7 separate regions of the Homo sapiens genome follow, and regions 1, 2, 3, 4, 6 and 7 are each linked to region 5. The links are contacts of gene promoters, found by promoter capture Hi-C in blood cells and fetal thymus (Javierre and others, 2016). All regions are on one chromosome and are shown on one strand. The core of a region is centred on a gene start or on the middle of the fragment in contact, and the rest is flanking DNA. Distances in the headings are between cores, read along the strand shown. Region 1 overlaps CFAP91 (cilia and flagella associated protein 91). Region 2 overlaps B4GALT4-AS1 (B4GALT4 antisense RNA 1). Region 3 overlaps B4GALT4 (beta-1,4-galactosyltransferase 4). Region 4 has its middle 5.3 kb from the start of CFAP91. Region 5 holds the start of POGLUT1 (protein O-glucosyltransferase 1). Region 6 overlaps POPDC2 (popeye domain cAMP effector 2). Region 7 has its middle 2.7 kb from the start of COX17.

Evidence for each region. Contacts are between HindIII fragments. The CHiCAGO score rates a contact against its expected background, and 5 or more counts as called.
Region 1: a fragment that was not itself captured here is called in contact with the fragment with the promoter of POGLUT1 in region 5 in 1 of 17 cell types (monocytes); the score reaches 7.8 in monocytes.
Region 2: a contact is called between a fragment that was not itself captured here and the fragment with the promoter of POGLUT1 in region 5, in 1 of 17 cell types (megakaryocytes). The highest score is 5.2, in megakaryocytes.
Region 3: a contact is called between a fragment that was not itself captured here and the fragment with the promoter of POGLUT1 in region 5, in 2 of 17 cell types (activated CD4 T cells and naive CD4 T cells). The highest score is 6.6, in activated CD4 T cells.
Region 4: a contact is called between a fragment that was not itself captured here and the fragment with the promoter of POGLUT1 in region 5, in 2 of 17 cell types (monocytes and naive B cells). The highest score is 11.9, in monocytes.
Region 6: a contact is called between a fragment that was not itself captured here and the fragment with the promoter of POGLUT1 in region 5, in 3 of 17 cell types (M1 macrophages, M2 macrophages and monocytes). The highest score is 7.9, in M1 macrophages.
Region 7: a contact is called between a fragment that was not itself captured here and the fragment with the promoter of POGLUT1 in region 5, in 15 of 17 cell types (megakaryocytes, total B cells, monocytes and 12 more). The highest score is 13.2, in megakaryocytes.

What each region holds. Positions count from the first base shown.
Region 1 is chr3:119,714,324-119,717,562 of GRCh38, reverse strand. It overlaps CFAP91 (cilia and flagella associated protein 91), which reads right to left. Exons shown (of 18, transcript NM_033364.4): 6 at 1,820-2,001. Among named protein-coding and RNA genes, the nearest start is that of CFAP91, 13 kb to the right of the region's middle. The HindIII fragment of the contact is 605 bases long and covers 1,485-2,089 here.
Region 2 is chr3:119,273,078-119,276,299 of GRCh38, reverse strand. All of the region lies in intron 3 of B4GALT4-AS1 (B4GALT4 antisense RNA 1), which reads right to left. Among named protein-coding and RNA genes, the nearest start is that of ARHGAP31, 20 kb to the left of the region's middle. RefSeq lists an enhancer at 1,087-1,256. The HindIII fragment of the contact is 6,975 bases long and covers 1-3,222 here.
Region 3 is chr3:119,222,622-119,225,940 of GRCh38, reverse strand. B4GALT4 (beta-1,4-galactosyltransferase 4) reads left to right here. Exons shown (of 8, transcript NM_003778.4): 5 at 1,696-1,883. Among named protein-coding and RNA genes, the nearest start is that of B4GALT4-AS1, 2.2 kb to the left of the region's middle. RefSeq lists a silencer at 481-653. The HindIII fragment of the contact is 1,235 bases long and covers 947-2,181 here.
Region 4 is chr3:119,696,186-119,699,166 of GRCh38, reverse strand. No RefSeq gene overlaps it. Among named protein-coding and RNA genes, the nearest start is that of CFAP91, 5.3 kb to the left of the region's middle. RefSeq lists an enhancer at 1,619-1,668. The HindIII fragment of the contact is 7,689 bases long and covers 1-2,981 here.
Region 5 is chr3:119,467,630-119,470,612 of GRCh38, reverse strand. It overlaps POGLUT1 (protein O-glucosyltransferase 1), which reads right to left and starts at 1,650. Exons shown (of 11, transcript NM_152305.3): 1 at 1,507-1,650; 2 at 703-793. The coding sequence starts at 1,591. RefSeq lists a silencer at 1,374-1,573 and enhancers at 1,624-1,793, 1,486-1,986. The HindIII fragment of the contact is 3,798 bases long and covers 1,026-2,983 here.
Region 6 is chr3:119,650,195-119,653,349 of GRCh38, reverse strand. All of the region lies in intron 2 of POPDC2 (popeye domain cAMP effector 2), which reads left to right. Among named protein-coding and RNA genes, the nearest start is that of POPDC2, 8.8 kb to the left of the region's middle. The HindIII fragment of the contact is 5,739 bases long and covers 1-3,155 here.
Region 7 is chr3:119,678,527-119,681,588 of GRCh38, reverse strand. No RefSeq gene overlaps it. Among named protein-coding and RNA genes, the nearest start is that of COX17, 2.7 kb to the right of the region's middle. The HindIII fragment of the contact is 6,506 bases long and covers 1-3,062 here.

The DNA.
Region 1 (3,239 bases), core at 538-3,037, 250 kb before region 5:
AAAAAAAAAAAACCAACGTATTTTACTTAACAGATATTAGCTTGATTTATAATTTTAAAATATCTATACATATGGTAGGTGGGCCTCCCTTAGAGTCCTGGGTCCCACAAATGGTAGGAGTAGGCCTGTCTCATAGAGGCTTTTATTGACACTTTAACTTCAGTTCTGCTATGACAGTGTACCAGATTAGGTTGTTTTTTTTGTTTGTTTTTTGCCTAATGAAGCATTTCTGAGCCTCTGCCTGGCTCTTGTCCTTCTGCAGTTTAACGCCAAGTCCTTATCACACCAAGAGGTAAAGTCCAAGGCCACAGGCAGGAATGCCTGACTCTGCTCTGTCTATAATCTTTATTGGGCAGGCACCAGGCTTCAGTTGCACCAGTGTGCAGGAGAAGGGCGCTGGCCCCTCACCTTCAGGCAGGTGACTTGGACCTGGTTCCCTGCCATGCACAGCTCCTACTCACCACCAAAGGTTCCCAGCTACTTCTTTCTTAGGAAAAAGTCTCCATTTCTACATTACGAATATTTTCTTTCTTGCTTTTAAGTGTGTCTACATGTTTATTAATTTTTTCCTGTAATTTTTATGCATTCAGAGCAGAAAGGGAAGGTTTCAGCATATTTTTAATTTGCCATCTAGGCCTGAAAGTAGAGCCTCTGCTTTAAAGTACGGGTGTTGGGCCAGGTGCGGTAGCTCAAGCCTGTAATCCCAGCACTTTGGGAGGCTGAGGTGGGCAGATCACGAGGTCAGGGGATCGAGACCATCCTGGCTAACACGGTGAAACCCCACCTCTACTAAAAATACAATAAAAAAATTAGCCAGGTGTGGTGGCATGCACCTGTACTCCCAGCTACTCGGGAGACTGAGGCAGGAGAATCACTTGAACCCAGGAGGCGGAGGTTGCAGTGAGCCAAGATCGCACCACTGCACTCCAGCCTGGGCGACAGAGTAAGACTCCGTCTCAAAAAAAAGTATGGGTGTTGATAATGCTTAATCTGGATTCATAAAGTGGGCCAGGAAACAAGAATCAAAACTAGAGCCCAGATATGAACATCTTCTTTGTCTGGGACGCAGACTTGATCACAGCTATCTGTTACAATGCGGGGGAAAGTAATCTCATTTAAAAATCATTACCATGAACCAACTATCTCTATGTCCTTGGAGGAATTAGTTAACCTCTCTGGTTCTCAGTTTCCCAGCTATTAATACAACTAAGTGAGTTACATAAGCTAATTTCTAATAATTTCTAAAGGTAGTCTCACTTATTAATTTTATAGGTTCACATAATATAGGCCTAGGCCAGATTTTATTACATTCTAAGAGTTAATTTCTGAGCCTGAAAGATATTTAGCATTTCAGAGATAATGTCAAGTCATCCAAATCATCTAATAAAGTATATAAGGGAGGATTGGTAAATTAAGATATTTTGGCAAATTAAGATAATATGACATACATAGGAATGTGCATTCAGTATTTTACACTCAAAGCTTATGTTTAAAGAAGTATGATTGCTCAATGAAAAGGAAGTGGTTCACTAGGAGAGAGAAATGAGAGGACATAGGTGAGTAGTCAGCAAAGCAACTGCAATATTAAGCTGAAATTCAGCTTCACAGATAGAGTACGATAAAACTACTCACAATAAAAAGATAGTATCTTTATTTGACCAGAAGTATCAGAAAAATTATGAGTCTATGAAGTTGCTGTACTAAGACACTTTATATAGCAACACTGTAAACCACAATTGCCTGTACATGGGCCATTTGAACAGCATGCGTGGTTATCAGCATCGTCATCTGCCAATAGTCAGGAGATTTACCAACTCACCCCAAGTAAGCGTAGCCAGGGTCAAGAGCTCAGGGATTGAGTCCTGACATACTACATATTCTGCAGAGTATGGATCTGTTTGAACGTCAGCATCCCGATAATCAGTCTGAGTGCCCACAGTAGACTTTGAAGGGATGGATAGGTGCTTAGTAGAAGTAGGAGGAAAAGTGTATGGTTCTGCCCTAAAAGAGAAAAATCAGTTTAAAAATTGAAACCTGTTATGGTCACTTAAAATATTATATAATCAAGTAGAAACAAATCTTCGAAGCTTTGTCAAGTCCATTCCTCTTTTAAATGTTGACAGGTACAAAATCATGAATCCATTATAACCAGGATTATGCGCACAAATCTTGAGAGAATTGCCTTGTTATTCTCACCTCTGCCAGGAAACTAAGTGGGTCAAAGTACCATGGTTGACCCACAGAAGTGCCTATTTATATGTGTGTCACTGGGCAAGGTTGTAGAACAGAGCTATTCTAGAATGCTGTACAGCACTTCTGAACCTGTTCAGCATTACTACATTCTCTGGTTTCTTTCTTCTTTGTTTCAGTTCCATACCACTCTCTGTTTCCCTCCAGAAATATGGGAGCAGAGAAAAGAGAAGAGATGGTTTCTGCTGAAAGAAAGAGAGAGAAAAAGGAAGGAAGGGAGGAACCAAGGCAGGCAGGCAGGCAGACAGGCTCTATCTGGATAAATGATTCAATAATTAATGCTGGGATCACTTTGTTATTAACATGTGGGAAAGTTAGCTTGTCTCTTGCAGAAAAATTAATTCCAGATCTTTAAAAAAATTAATGTAAAAATGAGACTATAAAAGTACTAACAGGAAACATAAGTCAATATTTATATCATCTTTGAGTGAAGGTCTTTTTAAGCCGGGCTTAAAAGCCAGAAACCATAAAAGGAGATGATCAATAGAATTGAGGGTAAGTTTCAACTTCTATGCCTCAAAATATCACAAACAAATTTAAAAGGTGAATGGCAAACTTAGAAAAAGGTTTTGGAACATATATGATAAAAAGTTTAAATAGCCTTTCTATATAAAAAGCCCTTGTAAATCAATTAGGCAGTTAAATACCCCATGGAAAAATGAGTAAAGGAGAATTCACAAAACAAAAAGTAAAACTTCTAACAAACATATGAGAAGATAATGAAAATAACTAGTAATCAAAGAAAAGTAAAACAGCAAGATACTATTTTATGCTATTTTATCACATAAGCAAAGATTTAAAAGACTGAAAGTACCTAGCATTGATTATGTTGTGAAGAAACAGGCCTTCTCATAAACTGTTGATGGAAATACAAATAGGTACACCAAATTGACAAGTTAAAATACGCTTTGCTCCAGCGTTTCTTTCTTTTTTTTTTTTTTTTTTTTGAGACGGAGTCTCGCTCTGTCGCCCAGGTTAGAGTGCAGTAG
Region 2 (3,222 bases), core at 588-3,087, 190 kb after region 5:
AGGAAGCTCTGTGGAGCCACTCTATCAGCCCTGTAGCCTCCCTGAGCTGGCTTCTCTGGCTCTGGCTCCCTGATCCTCCATCCCCACCTATGCCTCTGCAAGGGACTCAGTGAAGGAGCTATCTCCCTGCTACATTCTGGGAGCTGAGCACTGAAATTTTTAAGGAAATGTGCAAAGTCTGTTTACATACAACATTTATACATTTATTTGGCCAGCCAGTCAATAATTTACTAAGCATTGTCTGTATGCTAGGCCTTGGATTCGGTGCTGAGGACACAAAGTTGGAAAGACACCATCCAGGCCCTCATGAAGCCCTCGTTTTTGTGGCAAGAGAGAGATGCACTGTGCAACAAATGGTATGATGGGTATATTGAAGTTGGAGTACCTGATTGGCTGGCAGAGTCAGAGGGCCTCTTAGAGAAAGTGACCCTTGTGGAGACTTGAAGAGTGAGTAGTTGCTCCTGCAGATAATAGGGGAGAGGGTTTTCAGGACAGCAAGAATAGCATTTCTAGAGTCACAGAGGCGTGTGAGATCAGGACTTGCTCAGGGACTGGAAAGCAAATCAATGCGGTTGGGTGTGAGAGAGATTGGTGATATACCGGCTTGTCCATAAGGTGGGACTGTGTGTGTGATACCATTGATAGAGTTGATCCTTTAGTGGGGAGCCACTGGAGAATTTTGAGCAGTGCAGGCTCAACTACATCTGGCAGCAATGTAGGAGGCTGGGGAGGAGGGCGGAAAGCTACGCATTCTTCCTTGGTGCCTTCCCTCTCACGTTAGCGGAAGGTTGAAATGCATCCTGGATAAAATGCCGAACTTCCAGAATGGGACTACTTAGGCTCACACCCTATCCCCATCACTGGCTTTACTCCCACAAAGTTATGAAACCTAGATATGAAATCAGATGGTATAGTAAGGAAATTTAATTTACCTGCATTCATACTGTATTTTGCGTGGAAAATAAATCAGATTAGGTTCTGGAAATGGTGGAGTTATAAGTTTAGCCTCTATTCCTAGAAATGATTTGTAAGACCATCATCACAAAGCTAATTTGCATGCCCCTTAAACTGTATACAAAATCTTGGCCTTTTACGAATTGGCTTGAATTATTAAAGTGCCCTAGCCTTCCAGAAGGGTCACTCCAGTAATGGTTAACATTTGAGATGTGGGTTTGCCATCTAGTGGGCATTTTTGAATGTGTATGTGTTTTAAATACACATGCATCACACACACACACACACACACACACACACACACACACACACACTCTCAGAGTTTCCATCAGTAGTTCCTAATCTTTCTACCTCATCCCCAGCACTTAAAGGTCAGGATGGTACTTTGGACACATCCGCATTTGTAAAAGTGACTTAGTTTACATGTGGGAGGTATGAGGATGTTTTATGATGTGGGAATACCAGCATCACATGGAGGGTCTCTTCAAACTTTGTGTACTTCACATCTGCCTTTCTTGCTCCCCTGTGGCAATTACTAATCTAGAAAAAAGAGAGAGAGATACTTCACCACTAGAAAGGCACAGTGACTGCTCCATAGCAGATACTCGGTAAAAATTAGCTTCCTTCCTCTTCTCCCTATGACTTCTCTCATAAAAGCTATATTCCAAATTACAGCTTTAATAGTTTTGTGTGCACTTGGTGTGTAAAGCACTTTGTAGGCCCAGTGAATGCAAAGATGAATAAAACCCAGTCCCTATTTCTAAGATGCTTAGAGGAGAGAAACTCGTAGTTTTACAACTATATTCTAGCAGGCTATGTCTCAAATCTTTGACTGTAGTAGATTTTTTAGAAATAAGAATTTGGTTTTTCTTTAGAAGTAATAATACAATGATGCTGGCCTAGCATGGTGGCTGATACCTGTAATCCTAGCACTTTGGAGGCTGAGGCAGGCAGATTGCCTGAGCTTAGGAGTTCGAGACCAGCCTGGGCAACATGGTGAAACCCCATCTCTATTAAAATACAAAAAATTATCCGGGAGTGGTGGCACACACCTGTAGTCCCAGCTACTCAGGAGGCTGAGGCACGAGAATTGCTTGAACCGGGGAGGCAGAGGTTGCAGTGAAGCAAGACTGCACCACTGCACTCCAGCCTGGGTGACAGAGTGAGACTCTGTCTCCAACAAAAACAAACAAACAATAATGCTAGTTTTCCCAGACTAAGAAGAAGCATCCTTGTGATAAGGGATAAAATGAACATCAGGGACAGCTTGATTTATATTTGAAAGGACCGAGACTTAGAAGACAATAGGCCCAGAAAGAGAAGGGAGAGAAGTGGGGAGTAGAGGAAACTAGAGACAGTGTGGGATGCATTCTGTAAAGGTTTGAAGATGGGGGGAGAGAGTTTTAGAAGCAGCTACCATATGGTGTGAGATATTGAGAGGTTGGGCAAGAAGATTTTAAGAGGTTTTGTTATGTATTATAAATGGAATCCCCCTTTGATGCTTTCATGGCACTGAAGTAAAAATTTAAATTGCCTTTCTGTTATTTTTGGATATGGGTTAGTGTTTCTTTGGAAAATAGTACCATGCAGAGACAGGCTATGAAGTGGCTTAGCTTTATCTGGAAAACATAAATGTTCAGACCATAAAACTTTAAAAATAGATACATTATACTTTCCTCATGTGCCTTAAACCTAAAATTAAACAAAACCAAAATGATGAAATTGTATAAGGAATGTCTATTTTAACAGTAATACATGTACTTGGTTAAAAAATTCAAAAGTATAGAATGGCATTAAATGGAAAAAGAAAAACGTTTCCTGCTTTATTCTCCAAACCTCCCTTTCACCCCCATGTCTCACCACCCAAAGGTAACTAGCTTCTAAAGAGTTTGTTTTTAATTCTTTTTTCCCCAATAAGAATTTTTATTATTATATATTTTTTAAATTTTACTTTAAGTTCTGGGATACAAGTGCAGAATGTGCAGGTTTGTTACATAGGTAGACATGTGCCATGGTGGTTGCTGCACCTATCATCTGGTCATCTAGGTTTTAAGCCCCGCATGCATTAGGTATTTGTCCTAATGCTCTCCCTCCCCTAGTCCCCCACCCCTCGATGGGCCCTGGTGTGTGATGTTCCCCTCCCTGTGTCCATGTGTTCTTATTGTTCAGCTCCCACTTATGAGTGGGAACATGGTTTTCTGTTCCTGTGTTAGTTTGCTGAAAATGATGGTTTCCAGCTTCATCCATGTCCCTGCAAAGGACATGAAC
Region 3 (3,319 bases), core at 315-2,814, 240 kb after region 5:
TTGGTGATAAACTGAGGCTCTTGAAAATCAGTGTGCTTATATAGCACACCTATGTCTGTATTTTAGTACTTGGAACAAAATGTTACTATTATATTGTTTTATAGCTATTTTTGTTTTTAAGGTTGTTGGTCATAGTTATGATTTATTTGATTCTGAGTTCTTGCTCAGGACAGTAACCTACAAGGTATAGTACTATTTTTATGAATAGAAAAACATGTTTGCTTTGGGCCAGGCCCGGTGGCTCAGCACTTTGGGAGGCCAAGGTGGGTGGATCACTTGAGGATAGGAGTTTGAGACTAGCCTGGCCAGCATAGTGAAACCCTGTCTCTACTAAAAATACAAAATACTCTGTTAAAATACTAAAAAAAAAAAAAAAATTAGTTGGGTGTGGTGGCACATGCCTGTAGTCCCAGCTACCCAGGAGGCTGAGGCAGGAGAATCACTTGAACCCAGGAGGTGGAGGCTGCAGTGAGGTAAGATCACACCACTGCACTCCAGCCTGGGCAACAGAGCGAGATTCCATCTCAAATTAAAAAAAAAGAAAAAGAGAAAGAGAAAAATATGTCTGCTTCGTGTTATTCTTATCAGGAAAACATTGTGGTAACTTCTGAGAAATACTTGCACTTTTATGATAAACCACTTAACTGGAATTCATTCTGAAGGAATTTGAATGAAGCAGCCATGAAAAAATTATTTAATTTTTTTATTACAGCTTCAATCATATTACAGGTCAAACTGTGTTCTTTTATTGCCCAGTGACGAATCTACCTCCATAAGGCCACTGTGAGGATTAGCCTCCACCAGTAGCATTATAACAGGATTCTCTTACAGGGATTTCTGAGAAACTTTAAAGTAGCTTAGAAATATTAGCAATAACTTTCTCTTTCTATAGGTTGAGATTTCTTGATCCTTTCTGGCAAGCTATTAACTAAGTCTCTTAGAAGCTTAGTGTAAATTCATAACAGAGGGTAAGATTGGGATTACCTAGGGTTGAACTGTGAAGCAGTAATACTAATTGACATGACTAGTATATAAGAAAGGTTTTGTAGTTTTATACAGAATACGTAAAGGTATTTGTAAAATTTTAAGAGAAAATTTTTTTTTGTTAACTGTGGTAAGAATATTTAACATGAGAGCTATACTCAATACATTTTAAGTGTACATTATTATTGATTATTTGAGTTATTTGTATTTTAAAGCTGCTTTTAAAAAATTTTTAATTGTGAAACACACGATGTAAAATTTACCATCTTAACTTTTTTTAACTTTTTAAAATTTTTGCTATCTTAACTATTATTGAGTGTGCAGTTTAGTAATGTTAAGAATATTTACATGCAATGTATCTATGCATAATTATGCAATATATTGGTTGCATAAATATATGCAGTGTATTTATGAAATCAATCTCCAGAACTTAATCTTGCAAAACTGGAACTCTCTATCATTAAACAACAAGTCTTTGGATTTCAAGGACTGTTTCTAAGTTCTGGAATATAAGTATGTGTGAAGCACGAAGAAAAAAATCAAATGGTCTTTTATTGTCATTGCATCTTCTCTGTCAGATCTTTATGTCACAAGTGTAGTCTCGTGCGTAGAATAATTAGAATAATACCATCTCCTGAATCCTAACTAAGAGGCAAACAATATGAAACTTTATCTCAGGAGCTTTTCAAGTTTTAATTTTCATATCTCTAGGCTGAAGGTAAAAAGTTTAATCGAGCCAAACTCTTGAATGTGGGCTATCTAGAAGCCCTCAAGGAAGAAAATTGGGACTGCTTTATATTCCACGATGTGGACCTGGTACCCGAGAATGACTTTAACCTTTACAAGTGTGAGGAGCATCCCAAGCATCTGGTGGTTGGCAGGAACAGCACTGGGTACAGGTAAGGTGGTTCTGCTGAGGGTGGCTTAGGTCGAGAAGCTCAACTATTGTGATCAAGACTGGGTGGAACAAGCATCCAGAGTGTCATAAGAAAATGAGAAATAGAAAAAATGGTCCATAATGTATGCATCACTTAAAGTGCAAAACAGAAGTTAGAGAATGTAATGAGGAAAAAGCCCTACAACTTCAGCAGAGGATCACAAAGACAAGGGAAAGCATTGGAGAGAAATATCATCCAAGCATTGCAGGTGGTGGCCAGTCTCACCCGCAGCGCCCCTGTCGGGGGGCTTTCGCAAGCTTTCCCACACTGACTAGAATGCAAGTAACTTGTTTGTCTATTCCTGACTCCCCCTCTAGGAGGCAACAGGCTGGTGTCCTTAGTGAGACCTCTGTTGAGACATCACTTTCCAGACTGTGGCCTCTTTCTAGAGTATGGGGAGAGGTGGGGGAGGGCATGTCCTCTGAGTAGTCTTCTCGGGAGCCAGGACACCCAGGACAAGTTCATTTCTCTCAAAGCCACTGTGAGAAGTGCCAGATGCCATCATCTGTGTCTTCATTCCCCATCCCCTCCACCCTTAAGAAGGGTGTAGCTGCTTTTCAGCCTTATTTGATTCACCAGCTCCTATTCAAGCACAACCAAGCGGGAATAGTGACACAGAATGTTTCTCTGCAAATGAAACACTATATTCCCTCATTTGTGTGCACACTTACCTGTCAGCTTTCCCCAGGCCCTGCTGTTCATGGGTGCTCATATCTGTGGTGCTGACTGTGCTGGAGGCCATAAGACCAGTTTGAATAAGGCAGAGCACCTGCCCTCACAGGGCTCCCCGTTGAGTGTCAGTGTGGGGAGACAGGTAGCTACAGTGGAGTTGCGTTAATTTTGCATTTCTGCAAATACAACTATAAGCACTTGGTAAGGAGGGGAGAGAGGGACAAATGAAGAGAGGAAGAAGAAGGCAGGAGAGAAAGAACTGTGAAACTATCAAATAATGCTGGAGATTCCACCAGTATGTACTCTACGTGAGTGTGAAGTGGAAAGTGAGTCTCTTGATACCTCATTTGTTCTGGGCTTCTGTGTTGCTCTCTCACTTTGGGCAATTTAAGAGAATTCTTAAGTAACATTGATGTAGGTGACTGTTGCCTCAGGTACTGACTTTAAACCCCGGCTGTGTGTAAGCTGCAGGACATAAACACCTAGAACAAACTATGGTGGGTGAGAGCACAGTGTCTTTAAGAAACACCTTGAAGGGAAGGGTTTAAAGCTGTTCCCCAGGTAAGGTGGTACCTTAATCTTGTGGAACAACAAGAGCTTCTCAGCAGAGTTCCAAGACATGCCAGAGAGCACAGCGCAGTTTTGGGGAAAATGCAATAGTTCACTGGTATTCTAGAAGGAATGTCTGCGAGGAGAGGCAAGAACTGAGGCTAAGCAGGAGCCAG
Region 4 (2,981 bases), core at 236-2,735, 230 kb before region 5:
TGTGACTTAGAATGCCTAACCATCTGGAAATGTAGCCCAGTAGGTCTCAGCCTTATTTTACCTAGCCCCTACTCAAAATGGAGTTGCCCAGGTTTAAACGCCTCTGGCAATCTCATCAGAAAGACTTTTCCTCAGCCAGCCATGGTGACTTACGCCTGTAATCCCAGCACTTTGGGAGGCTGAGGCAGGCAGATCACCTGAGGCCAGGAGTTCAAGACCAGCCTGACCAACATGGTGAAACCCCGTCTCTACTAAAAATACAAAAAAATTAGCCAGGCGTGGTGGTAGGCGCCTGTAATCCCAGCTACTCAGGAGGCTGAGGCAGGAGAATTGCTTGAACCTGGGAGGCGGAGGTTGCAGTGAGCTGAGATGGCACCACTGCACTCTAGCCTGGGCAACAAGAGCAAGACTCTGTCTCAAAAAAAAAAGAAAGAAAAGAAGAAGAAGAAAGACTTCTTTTCCTCATTCTATCAGATAAACTATCTAAGGTAGTCAACAGCCAGCAGCCTCCATAAACACATCCGAAGACACTATTACCTTGATTTTTTTTATAGCACTGAAATGTTACTGATTTGCTTATTTATTATATCTCCTCCCACTAGAATGTAAGCTCTGTGAGACCAGAGACCTCAAATGTCCTGTTCACCCTGAATTCATCCATATCTCTTAGGCCAGTAAAACCACCTTTGCAAAAGATTATAACTGAGAAAATTATGACAGTGAGAAAAATCTGACATGGCTGAGTCCATCTTGACTCTAGCCTCACAGGTTGGCTGTCTTTGCTCATTCTGGGACATGAGCCAAGCTAACTTTGGGAGAAATTTAGAGTATACTTTTGTTTGTTTGTTTTTTGTTTTTGTTTTGAGATGGAGTCTTGCTCTGTTGCCCAGGCTGGAGTGCAGTGGCACAATCTTGGCTCACTGCAACCTCCACCTCCCAGATTCAAGTGATTCTCCTGCCTCAGCATCCTGAGTAGCTGGGATTACAGGTGCCCACCACCACACCCAGCTAATTTTTTGTATTTTTTAGTAGAGACAGGGTTTAGCCATGTTGGCCAGGCTGGTCTTGAACTCCTGATCTCAGGTGATCCACCTGCCTGGGCCTCCCAAAGTGCTGGGATTACAGGCGTGAGCCACCGTGCCTGGCCTAGTTTATAGTTTAAATGATAATAGCCCCTCCCAAAAACTAAACTATTTTTATAAAATGAGTGAAAGTCCACAAAGTTAGGATGAAAGGGGCCTGAATTATAAATAATTACCAGCCATTTTTTCGGAGGTCATAAGATTTGCAACTTCCCCAATTACTCTTGAAGATAACATCACTATTATAGAACCTAAGACTGGCCTTTTGAGGTATCTTTTTAGGCCTTTGCATTTCTGACAACCAGATGGCCCCACCTGGACCTGCCAACGAGTCCTGTCGTCCTCCACCTAGGAACTGACTCAGCCCAAGAGGACAGCTTCAATTCCCTATGGTGTCATCTCCAACCCAGCCAATTAGTATGCCATGCCCCCTACCATACCCCCCTTGCCCTCCACACTGTCTCCGAAAAACCCCTAACCTCCAAGCGTTTGGGGAGTAATAACAAAACTCCAGTCTCTTGTACAGCTGGCTCTGTGTGAATTAAACTCTTTTTCTATTGCAGTTCCCCTATCTTATAAACTGACTCTGTCTAGCCAGCGAGCAAGGAGAACTCACTGGGTAGTTACACCAGCACCTGGCACAAAGCAGGTGCTAAAGGAAAATACATTGGAATGAATTGAGCTACTGAATTATTCATGTATTTACCTGTCTGCCATCAGTGACTTTCACTTCTGTCTCACTGCCAATTTCATACCTTCACAATCTTTAAGATATTCCATTTCAAATGACCAAACATCTACTAGACAAACTCAATACATCCTCAGTAAAACTAACACTTCCGTACACTGCAGAAACTCTAATACAGTGATTAACTACGTGAACATTAGAATCAGATTTCCTAAGTTTGAATCTTTGTTCTAAAACAGTTCGTGTGATCTTCGGCATTTACTTAATATCCACATGCATCAGTTTCCAAAACACTAAAATGAGAACAAACAGCAATAATATCAGGGAAAATTATGGGAGGTAACACCTACAAAGGACTTAGAACACAGTCTGTTAGATAGCGAGTGTCCGATAAATGTTATAATACTACCTAGCTTCATAAATCTTCTCAATTTCTCCATTTCTGTCTTCGTGCATCATGAGCTTCCCATTTACCTAGAACTACATCTGATATTCATCTTAAAATATGTAAGAATACAAAGGGCAAATGTAGGGCTAAAGAATAGGCATGACTGTTAAAGATATAATTCATATACTTAAACACATATTTACATTTCACTACTAACTGAATAGCATTTAGTAGCTAAATGTAAGTAAACATGGATTTAAATATATAAATTTAGTAGCTAAATGCTATTCAGTTACATTTAGTAGCAAAATGTAACTACTATGTAACTACCAGTTACATAGTACTAGCAGTAGTATCAGCAGTATTAGTACTGTGTACTACTAATACATACTATTAGTTACTATGTAACTATTACATAGTAACATTTACTACTACATTACATGGTAGTTACATTTAGCTTCTAAATGCTATACATCAGCTTTTGCTACTGTTGGAAAACATCAGTTCAATCAGAAAAAACAAATGTTATTAGAAAACAAAATTTCCAGTTTAAGCTGGCTCATTAGGTGAAATTTTAAATTTACAGGTTAGTATATATATATATATATATAGAGAGAGAGAGAGAGCATTTAGGCCAGGTATGGTCGCTCATGCCTGTATTCCCAGTACTTTGGGAGGCTGAGGCAAGAGGATCACTTGAAGCCAGGAGTTTGAGACCACGCTGGGCAACATAGTGGGATCCTCTCTCTACAACAACAACAGCAACAAAATTAGCTGGGCGTGGTGTCATGCGCCTGTAGTCCTAGCTACTCAGTGGCTGAGG
Region 5 (2,983 bases), core at 401-2,900:
CTCATCCCGGCCCTGATGTGCATTCTCTCTCTTTTTTGAGACGGAGTCTCACTCTGTCACCCAGGCTGGGGTGCAGTGGCATGATCTGGATTCAATGCAACCTCTGCTTCCCGGGTTCAAGCGATTCTCCTGCCTCAGCCTCCCGAGTAGCTGGGATTACAGGCACGTGCCATCATGCCCAGCTAATTTTTGTATTTTTAGTAGAGACAGGGTTTCACCATGTTGGCCAGGCTGGTCTCGAAATTCTGACCTCAGGTGATCCACCTGCCTTGGCCTCTCAAAGTGCTGGGATTACAGGCATGAACCACCATGCCCAGCCTGATGTGCATTTTCTAAAGATAACCATCAGGAAATTTAGGACTAGATTCAGCGATAGATGGGTTTATTTCCTCAACAATATTTATCGAGCACGCACTGACAGCTAGCACCAGGGAGACAACAGCAAATAAGACACAGACCCTGACCTCAGGAAGCTTGCAGCCCAGTGGGAAAAACAGATGCACATGCACTGAATCCCGCAGTGAGTCAGTGGTTAGGTTGACACCACCTGAGCCTTTCCCATGCGAGAGCATTTTTATTCCCCAGAAATAGAAAAACATCCTTGCCTTTCTGACCACTGCAACCAAAATCTCTCAAGGATGTTAGAATACTTCCTGTGACAGCAACTAAACTCTCAAAGACACATCAAAGAAAAGAACTCACCCATGGTAGCAGCTGCAGTTTTGACTTGAACATGGTTCGTAATTCTCCAAAGACCTGTTAATTTGGTCAATAAATACTTTCCATTTTGAACCTTTAAAAAGTGAAGTAAATGAGAGTTAAAAAAATTTTCCTGAATGTTATTTGCTGACACCACACCAACAGAAGAAACAGAAGACCAAAACTTTCAGAAATCCCCTTCCCATCCCACTGATGGAAACGAAACGCTAGGGAGGAATTTTTGTGTGTGCAACTCCCACGCTCACGTCAAGTCTGTTCCTCTATCCGGCTGTCAGGTGTCCAAGAAACTGGAAAATTCCCAAGCTTAATGCTCAACCCTCAGAATGCTATGGATAGTGACGCGGACTCTCACTTTCTACTAATCAAATTGAACTCCACAAAGAGGATCAGTTAAAAGCTACAGACATTAAACCCCTCTTCTCTTCTGGCAACGCATATACACACACGCTCGCGCGCACGACATTTGCCCCCATCCCCGACCCCTCAGTGTTTCAGGCAGGTCCAGAGTAGCCAAGCACGGGCCACGCCTCCTGCGGGTGAACGGGGAATTCCCTCTCCTCCCTGTCATTCTGAATTCCGGGGAATGGGTTACTCTCCAGGGTCCAGAGCAGGAGCAGAGACCCCGGCACCTCACTCTCCGCCGCAAGGCGCCCCGGTGCCTTCTGCCCAGCTCCGAGCTACAGCGGCCACGGCATCTTCCCGGGAGCCGGCCGCGCGGGGGAGCGCCTCGGGACTCCGGCCAGACCCCGAGCCCAAGGGGCAGGCTCGGCACTGCCCGGAGCCCACCTGACTCCTTCTGGCGGCCCTGCGCTGAGGGCAGGAGGAACAACAGCAGCCAGAGCCGAAGCGGCGAGCTAGCCCACCACTCCATCGCCGGCAGACCTACTGCAGATTCCCCGCTGCGGCGCTGGCGGAAGCGCGGCCCCGCACAAAGATGGCCCGGGAGCCGCAGCACGTGGGCGGCGGGTCGCCCCGCACAAAGATGGCCACCGTGGCCCCACCACCCTTCCTCCAGTCCCCAGCCTTGAGGCGGAGTTTCCCTGAGAAGGCTGCGCCGGGAAGGTGGGGAGGATAAACGAATGGACCAGTTGCCTATCCTCCCTCCCTGGCACCCCTGGGAAAATAGGTCTGCAGCCAGAAAACTGAAGGTCAGAGAGGGTATGTTTCACGGTTAGTGGCACAACCAAGACTTGGCATAGAGCCTAGGCCAAACAGTTCTTCTCTTGACGTCAAATTGCCTCTTATCAAATAGCATAAATTTGTTGAGCATGTGTGTGTGTGTGTGTGTGTGTGTGTGTGTGTGTGTACAGCACGGTTAGACCCCAAAGGTTGCAATTAGCATAGCAGGGATCCCTTTGTAATAGGAATTTATAACAGTTGGGGTGACTTAGACGTAGGAAAAAAGATCAATGGTGTTAAATAAAGTTTATGGGAGGTCGTTGTTTTGGACAGAACTCTGGCACTAGGCCTCAAGAGAGCAGACAAAACCAGAATGGAGGCAACTTGTCCTAGGTGCTGCGTAATTAAACTCAGCTTTAAAAGGGGTCAGTTTTCCAACAAATAGGAGAAGGGGCCCATATACCTGAGCTGGCATGATAAAGAAGTCCCCTCTGATGTAACTCTTTGAGGAAAGTAACTTCAAAATGACCAATCTGCTTTTTGTTCCTTATTTCTGCTTTCTTCAGCCCTTTTCTGCCTATAAGCCCAACCCCTTCTGCTCAGCTCATTAGAACACTTTTCTGTTTTATAGATGAGATGCTGCCTGATTCATGAATCACTAATAAAAGCCAATTCGATTTTTTTTTTTTTTTGAGACAGAGGACAGTCTAACTCTGTTGCCCAGCCTGGAGTGCAGTGGCACAATCTTGGCTCACTATGACGTCTGCCTCCCGGGTTCAAGCAATTCTTCTGTCTCAGTCTCCCGAGTAGCTGGGATTACAGGAGTGTGTCACCATGCCCGGGTAATTTTTGTATTTTTAGTAAAGACAGGGTTTCACCGTGTTGGCCAGGTTGGTCTCAAACTCCTGACCTCAGGTGATCTGCCCACCTCGGCCTCCCAAAGTGCTGGGATTACAGGCGTGAGCCACCATGCCTGGCCAAGAACTTTAAACTAAATTTGATGAAATTTTGTTTCTTGACAGTGGGCAACATGATACTGGACAATATAGGTATATAGTATAGTACAGGTATATATCTTTATACAGGTATATATAGGTCAGTGTAGATATATTTAGTAATCATAGAACTACAAATATTTATCTAT
Region 6 (3,155 bases), core at 82-2,581, 180 kb before region 5:
GCTTTGGTCACTTTCTTTGTAGCTCTCACTTATTGAATGGCTAGCATGTGGCAGGCACTACGTATCATATTGCCTCATTGATTCTCATAACAACTCTATGGGTTGAATATGATTATTACTCCATTTAACAACTGAGGAAACTAAGGCCCAAAAACATCAAGTAATTTGCCCAGGGTCTTCAGCTAGAAAGTGACAAAGCCAAGTTGCCTGGATCTACCATTTCTGTTCTTTATTAAAATGGGAAGGTCACCAGAAGAGTAGAGTTTACACACACACATACACACACACACATGCACACGCATGCACACACGCGCACACACACTCACTCACCCTTTTAAGGACTCCCCTGCCTGGATAGTTTGCTGGACCTGGAAACACTGGATTCCATGTGTCTCCTACTACTTTTATCAGGGAGTCCCTCAAGCCAACATATGAGCCAACCCCGGAACAGACACACACCGGGCAGTGCTACCTGGCAGGGCCTGCTTCTGCCCCCACCCTGACACTTGGCTCTGTGATGATGGAGCCTGAGAGGCAGTCCTGATCCCACTGCCAGGGTCACCAGCCACAGATCCACTTCCATCATGTTCCTACCCTGACCTCCGTCCACACACCCTCCCTAACTAGTCCAGAAACCTTCTTCAGGAACTCTCTCAGGCACATGAGAACCTCCAGGAGGGCTCAGTCAGGACCTGAGCCAGCTGGACCAGGCCTCTTTCTGACACTGACACGGAGGAACAGGTGGTGGGTAAGCCGGGTGTCCTCCCCTAAGTTACGCTCAAGAGGAAGGGCTGTAACCTCACATGGCCTCTCAGCCTGGAATGTAGGTATGGTCATGTTCCTCCCATTTATATTTTTAGCGTGTACCTCCTTTGGGAGTAATGAGAGCCACACATTTGCTATTGGCTGTGTAAAGTCCCATTTCCTCTTTGCAAATGTCAAGTGTTATCTTAAGTTAGAGTTCATCCTGTCCTTGCCTTTTGCAATTACATAGTCTTTGTTGACTGAGAGCAATCCACAGTGACAGCCTAAATTATAATTCACATTGTACCTAATATAAATCAATCAGCATTCCAGCACACCTCTCGACAATTCAATTAAGTCAGAATTCATTGTGTGTTCGGCACTGTGACACTCATTAGTCACCAAGAACACAGCACAGGAGGGATCACACAGAAATCATCACTGTTTTTCTAATTTGCATCCTATCTTACTGGACCTAAGTCCTATTTACATAGGTTATCTCATTTAATTCATTCAACCAACATCTGAGATGAGTATTAAAAAAAAAGCTAAATACTTGTCAAAACGTTACAACAGATATGTCTATATATATGGGAGAACCAATCAAGAAGCAGATTTCAGGAGGACCTTTGGGGAAGGATTTTATACAGGACATGAGAAAGCAACATTAGAGGCTGGGCGCGGTGGCTCACACCTATAACCCCAGCACTTTGGGAGGCCGAGGCAGTTGGATTATGAGGTCAGGAGTTTGAGACCAGCCTGGCCAACATGGTGAAACCCCATCTCTATTAGAAAATACAAAAATTAGCCAGGGTGGTGGCAGGTGCCTATAATCCCAGCTACTCGGGAGGCTGAGGAAGGATAATTGCTTGAACCCGGGAGGTGGACATTGCAGTGAGCTGAGATCACACCGCTGTACTCCAGCCTGGGTGACAGAGCAAGACTTCGTCTCAGGGGGGCGGTGGGGTGGGGGAAGAAAGTGACATTAGGTTGTTTTGCAATATACAAGATTGGCTGTCTTCCCTTGATTCATTTATTCACTTCAATAATATTTATTGAAAACTTAGTATATACCAGGCACTGTTAAAAGGATTTGAAATATATCAGTGAACAGAACAGATGAAGGTCCCTCCCCTCATGCAATTTACATTCTAATGGGGGAGACAAAAAGCCATAGGCATAATGAATAAGTAAATTATATAATTTGTTAGAGGATAATCACTGCTAGTTTAAAAAAAAAAACCTAGAGTAGTGCAAGGGAGAAATGGTGGCAATTTTAAATAGGGTGGTCATGGAAATCCTTGTTAAGCAGATAACATTTGAGCAAAAACCTGAGAGAGATGACAGGTGAGGTCTGTGAATATCTGGGAAAAGCATATCAGACAGAGGAAAGAGCCAGTGCAAAGGCCCTGAGGTGGGGCCAGTGTGTTTGATGCACAGAAAGGAGGACAGTGGACCTGGAATGGAGAGAGGAAGGGGAGGGAATAGCAGGAGAGAAAGTTGGAGAGGTGACGAGGTAGCAAGATCATGTAGGGCCATAGCATATATTGTCTAGATACAGCCAAAAGGATTTTCTAAAGGGTTGGATATAGTATGTGAGAGAAAGAGAAGATCAAGGAAGACTCTAAGGCTTTTGGCCTGAGCAACTGGACAGGTGGTGCTGCTGTCAACTGAGACAAAGAAAGCTGCAGGTAGAGCTGCTTTCGGGGGACTAGGAAGTTCAGTGTTTGATGTTAGGTTTGCATCATCTGTGGACATTTGAATGGAGATGCTGCATAGGCAACTGGATATTTAAGTCTGAAATTCAGGAATGAGATCTGGGCCTGAGACATAAATTTGGGAGTTGGTTGTATGCAGATGATATTTAAAGCCATTGGATAGGATGAGCTCACCAAGTGAGTGAGTGTGGATGGAAGAGGGAATGGTTCAAGAGCGGAGCCCTGGGATACTTTAGTGGTGAGGAGTTGGAGAGGAAAGGAGGAAGCAGCAAAGGAGCTTGAAAAGGAACAATCATGAGATTGGGCAAGGAGTGTATGGCATCCTGGGAACCAAGTGAAGAAGATATATCAAAGAGGAAGGGGAAATTGATGGATGCCATGAAAACTGACCATCAGACTCAGCAGCTTAGAGGTCATTGGTGACCTTAACAGGAACAGTCTTTGTGGACTGCTAGGGACAAAGTCTTATTGGTTTAAGAGAGTGAGAAGAGAGGAATTGGAGACAGTTAAGTATAAACAGGTTTTTTTTTCTTCATGAGTTTTGCTAAAAAGGGAAGCAAATTAGTGGAGTGATAGCTAGCCAGGGAAGTGAATTCGAGAAAAAGAATTTTTATTTGTAAAATTTTGTTTTATTTTAAGATGGAAGAAGTACAGCATATTTCTAAGAAGGTTCACAGTCTTTGTGTTTGGCTT
Region 7 (3,062 bases), core at 199-2,698, 210 kb before region 5:
TTACTTTTGTAAGTTAGTTTATACAAAGTAGACATAGTACATTAGGCCAATGAGAATTTAAGTCTTGTAATTCTTATCTCTCAACATATGGTGTCACTCCTTCTCCACCAACAACTACTCACCCTTACTTGGTAAAGCTGGCACACCTGGGATTAGTTAGGCCTGAAAAATGGCTAAAAATACCTTTATCATAGAAGGATTTTAGAAAGTACTTTCTCAGTTGTTGCTTCTGGCATTACCAGGGCTGTCATGCATCCACAAAATTGCTGTTTGGTGCCACTGGTAGCTAATGTCCCCATTCAATAACATACAATAAACATATTCACTGTGCTATGAAAAAATCCACTACAGTCACCACTTCAAGTCTTAATGCCTGCTAATTTAGCAATTATAGTAATAGCAAAGCATTCCAAAGGTTTAAAAGAGCTCCAATTCTGGTTAAAATCAAAATTGATGAGCAAGAGCTTGATATAAAAGGTATGAATCAAACTAATTTCAGAGTTGCCTTTGTAAGACAGATGGGTGAATTTTATCTTTTATTATTTGGTATTCATCAGCCACCTACTGTCAATTTAAACTCTAATTACAGCTCTCTAAAATTATTTTTCTTGGGGGAAGTGGGCTATTAAGATTTTTGTTGGGGTAGAATGGGAAAGGATAAATTTCTTATGTTATATACTCCTACCTTTCCTTTAATACCGAAACAGGCCATCCCACGAGTATAAAAGCATTTAGACTGGGTAGGAGAAGAAAAAATGATAGAGAAAGAAGAAAAGCATAGTGATAACATAAAAATCAAAAGTTGACCTTACAGCTTACTTTATATAAATTATTATTATTATTATTTTGAGACAAAGTCTCACTCTGTTGCCTAGGCTGGAGTGCAGTGACGTGATCTCGGCTCACTGCAACCTCCGCCTCCCTGGTTCAAGGGATTCTCCTGCCTCAGCCTCCTGAGTAGTTGGGATTACCGGCGCCTGCCACCACGACTGGCTAATTTTTGTATTTTTAGTAGAAACGGGGTTTCACCATGTTGGTCAGGCTGGTCTCAAACTCCTGACCTCAAGTGATCTGCCCACCTCAGCCTCCCAAAGTGCTTGGGATTACAGGCGTGAGCCAGCACGCTCCACCTTACTTCATATAAATTAAAAGGTAGAAGGAAAAGTAACCCACATATGTGGGTTAGCTGTACCATTCTGAAGCAAGAGGATAGTTTAGTAGCTAGATATAAATGACTAAATATTTCACTTTGGAAAGGCCACTGGTTGTTTTTTTCAAAGTCAGGAGAATATTTCATCCTGAAGAAGCAGTTGTTGAAAGAGTGTTAAGGGTTACAGCACTCAGTAAGGAAACCAAAGGTTGTAAATGTCTGGAACACAGCAGGTTAAAGAAGTGTGGTGCAGAAAGGGCTGCTACTCAACTTCTTTGCCTGAGGCCTGCCTATATTAGCTAACCTGAGGAAGTCACAGGCAGTGTTATCACAACCAGTAATCTTTCTTCCCTGAAGCAAGGAGGGACAGTGGGCCAAAAAATCTTCTCAATTGCAGAAAAGCTGTTTGAGTCTTTGGGTCTGTTATCTGTCCCTACTGTTTATCTCAATTCTCTTAGCTCTCTAAACTCTGTTAGATATTTATCTTCCTTTTCTTCCTTGTTCATTTCCTATACATAAAAATGCAATAGCACAAGTGAATACAGATCAATGATTAGTTTTAAAATAAAAAAATTTTGCTTTGCATTAATTAATTAATTTTTTTTGAGACAGTCTCACTACATCACCCAAGTTGGAGTGCAGTGGCACAATCTCGGCTCACTGAAATTGCCACCCACTGGGTTCAGGTGATTCTCATGCCTCATCCCCCCAAGTAGCTGGAATTACAGGTTACCACTCCTGGCTAATTTTTGTATTTTTAGTAGAAATGGGTTTTCACCATGTTGGTTGGGCTGGTCTCAAACTTCTGACCTCAGATGATCTGCCTGCCTTAGCCTCCCAAAGTGTGGGATTACAGGTGTGAGCCACTACACCAGGCCTTGCCTTGCATTTAGATAAATTAAGTAGGATAGTAGACAGAGTACAGGGAGAAGATGATGAGACTCAGGATTGCCACTTTCAAGTTACGCAGCCTTGAACAAATGTACACCTCTGAACTTCAATTTTTCCCCAACTATAAATGTAGATAATAATTTTGACTGCCATGAAGATTAAATGATGGTTCACAACCTCGACAGCCCTACATATATGGAAGATATTGCGACTGAAGGTGACATTGTTTCAACTGAATACATATTCTAAGTGAACACATTAGTTTTTTAACTTTTAAAATTTTTAAAAATATGTAGATTTCAAATATTTTCTCCCAATTCTATCATTTATTTGTTAACTTTGTCTATAGTATTGTATGTAAAACCCCAAGCCTTTATTTTGCTGTAATGAATTTCTTCAATTTTTTTGACATGCAATTTGTACTTTTGAAATGTAACATAAGTTATTCCCCCATCCCTCAGTATTAAAATATTCTCCTCCACAATTTGCTATTAATTTCATATTTCAATCTTTCCAATCTAGGTCTTTAATGCATCTAGAGCTCTTCCTTTTAATGTAGTGTTTAATTTTCTCCAGATGGTTAGCCTATTTTCTTTTCCCCAATAATTTGTTGAACCACATTTTATTGTATATTAAGGTTACAAGTGATGTTGATATTGCTCATCCAGGAAGCACTGTTTGATTAGCAAGATTCTAAACAATGTGAGTTAGCACCTAGTTGAAAGAATTGATAATAATGGATGAGGGTGAATTTAGAACATGAGGGTAATATGTTGTATTATTAAAAATATCAATCCAGAAGGAAATAAAAATCATCCTTATTGAAAGTTTTCAGATGACAAAATGGGGATGGTCTTAGTAACCTGAAAAATACACATATAGAAATTACTCTTATACAGCACCAGTTCACAGACACGCCTGTAAATTCCCTGAGTTAAATATCTATAATATAGAAACAAACTTTGATTAGGTGATGCTGAAAGTTTAAGTACCTAAAAATACCTATCACCCTGCAGCTATT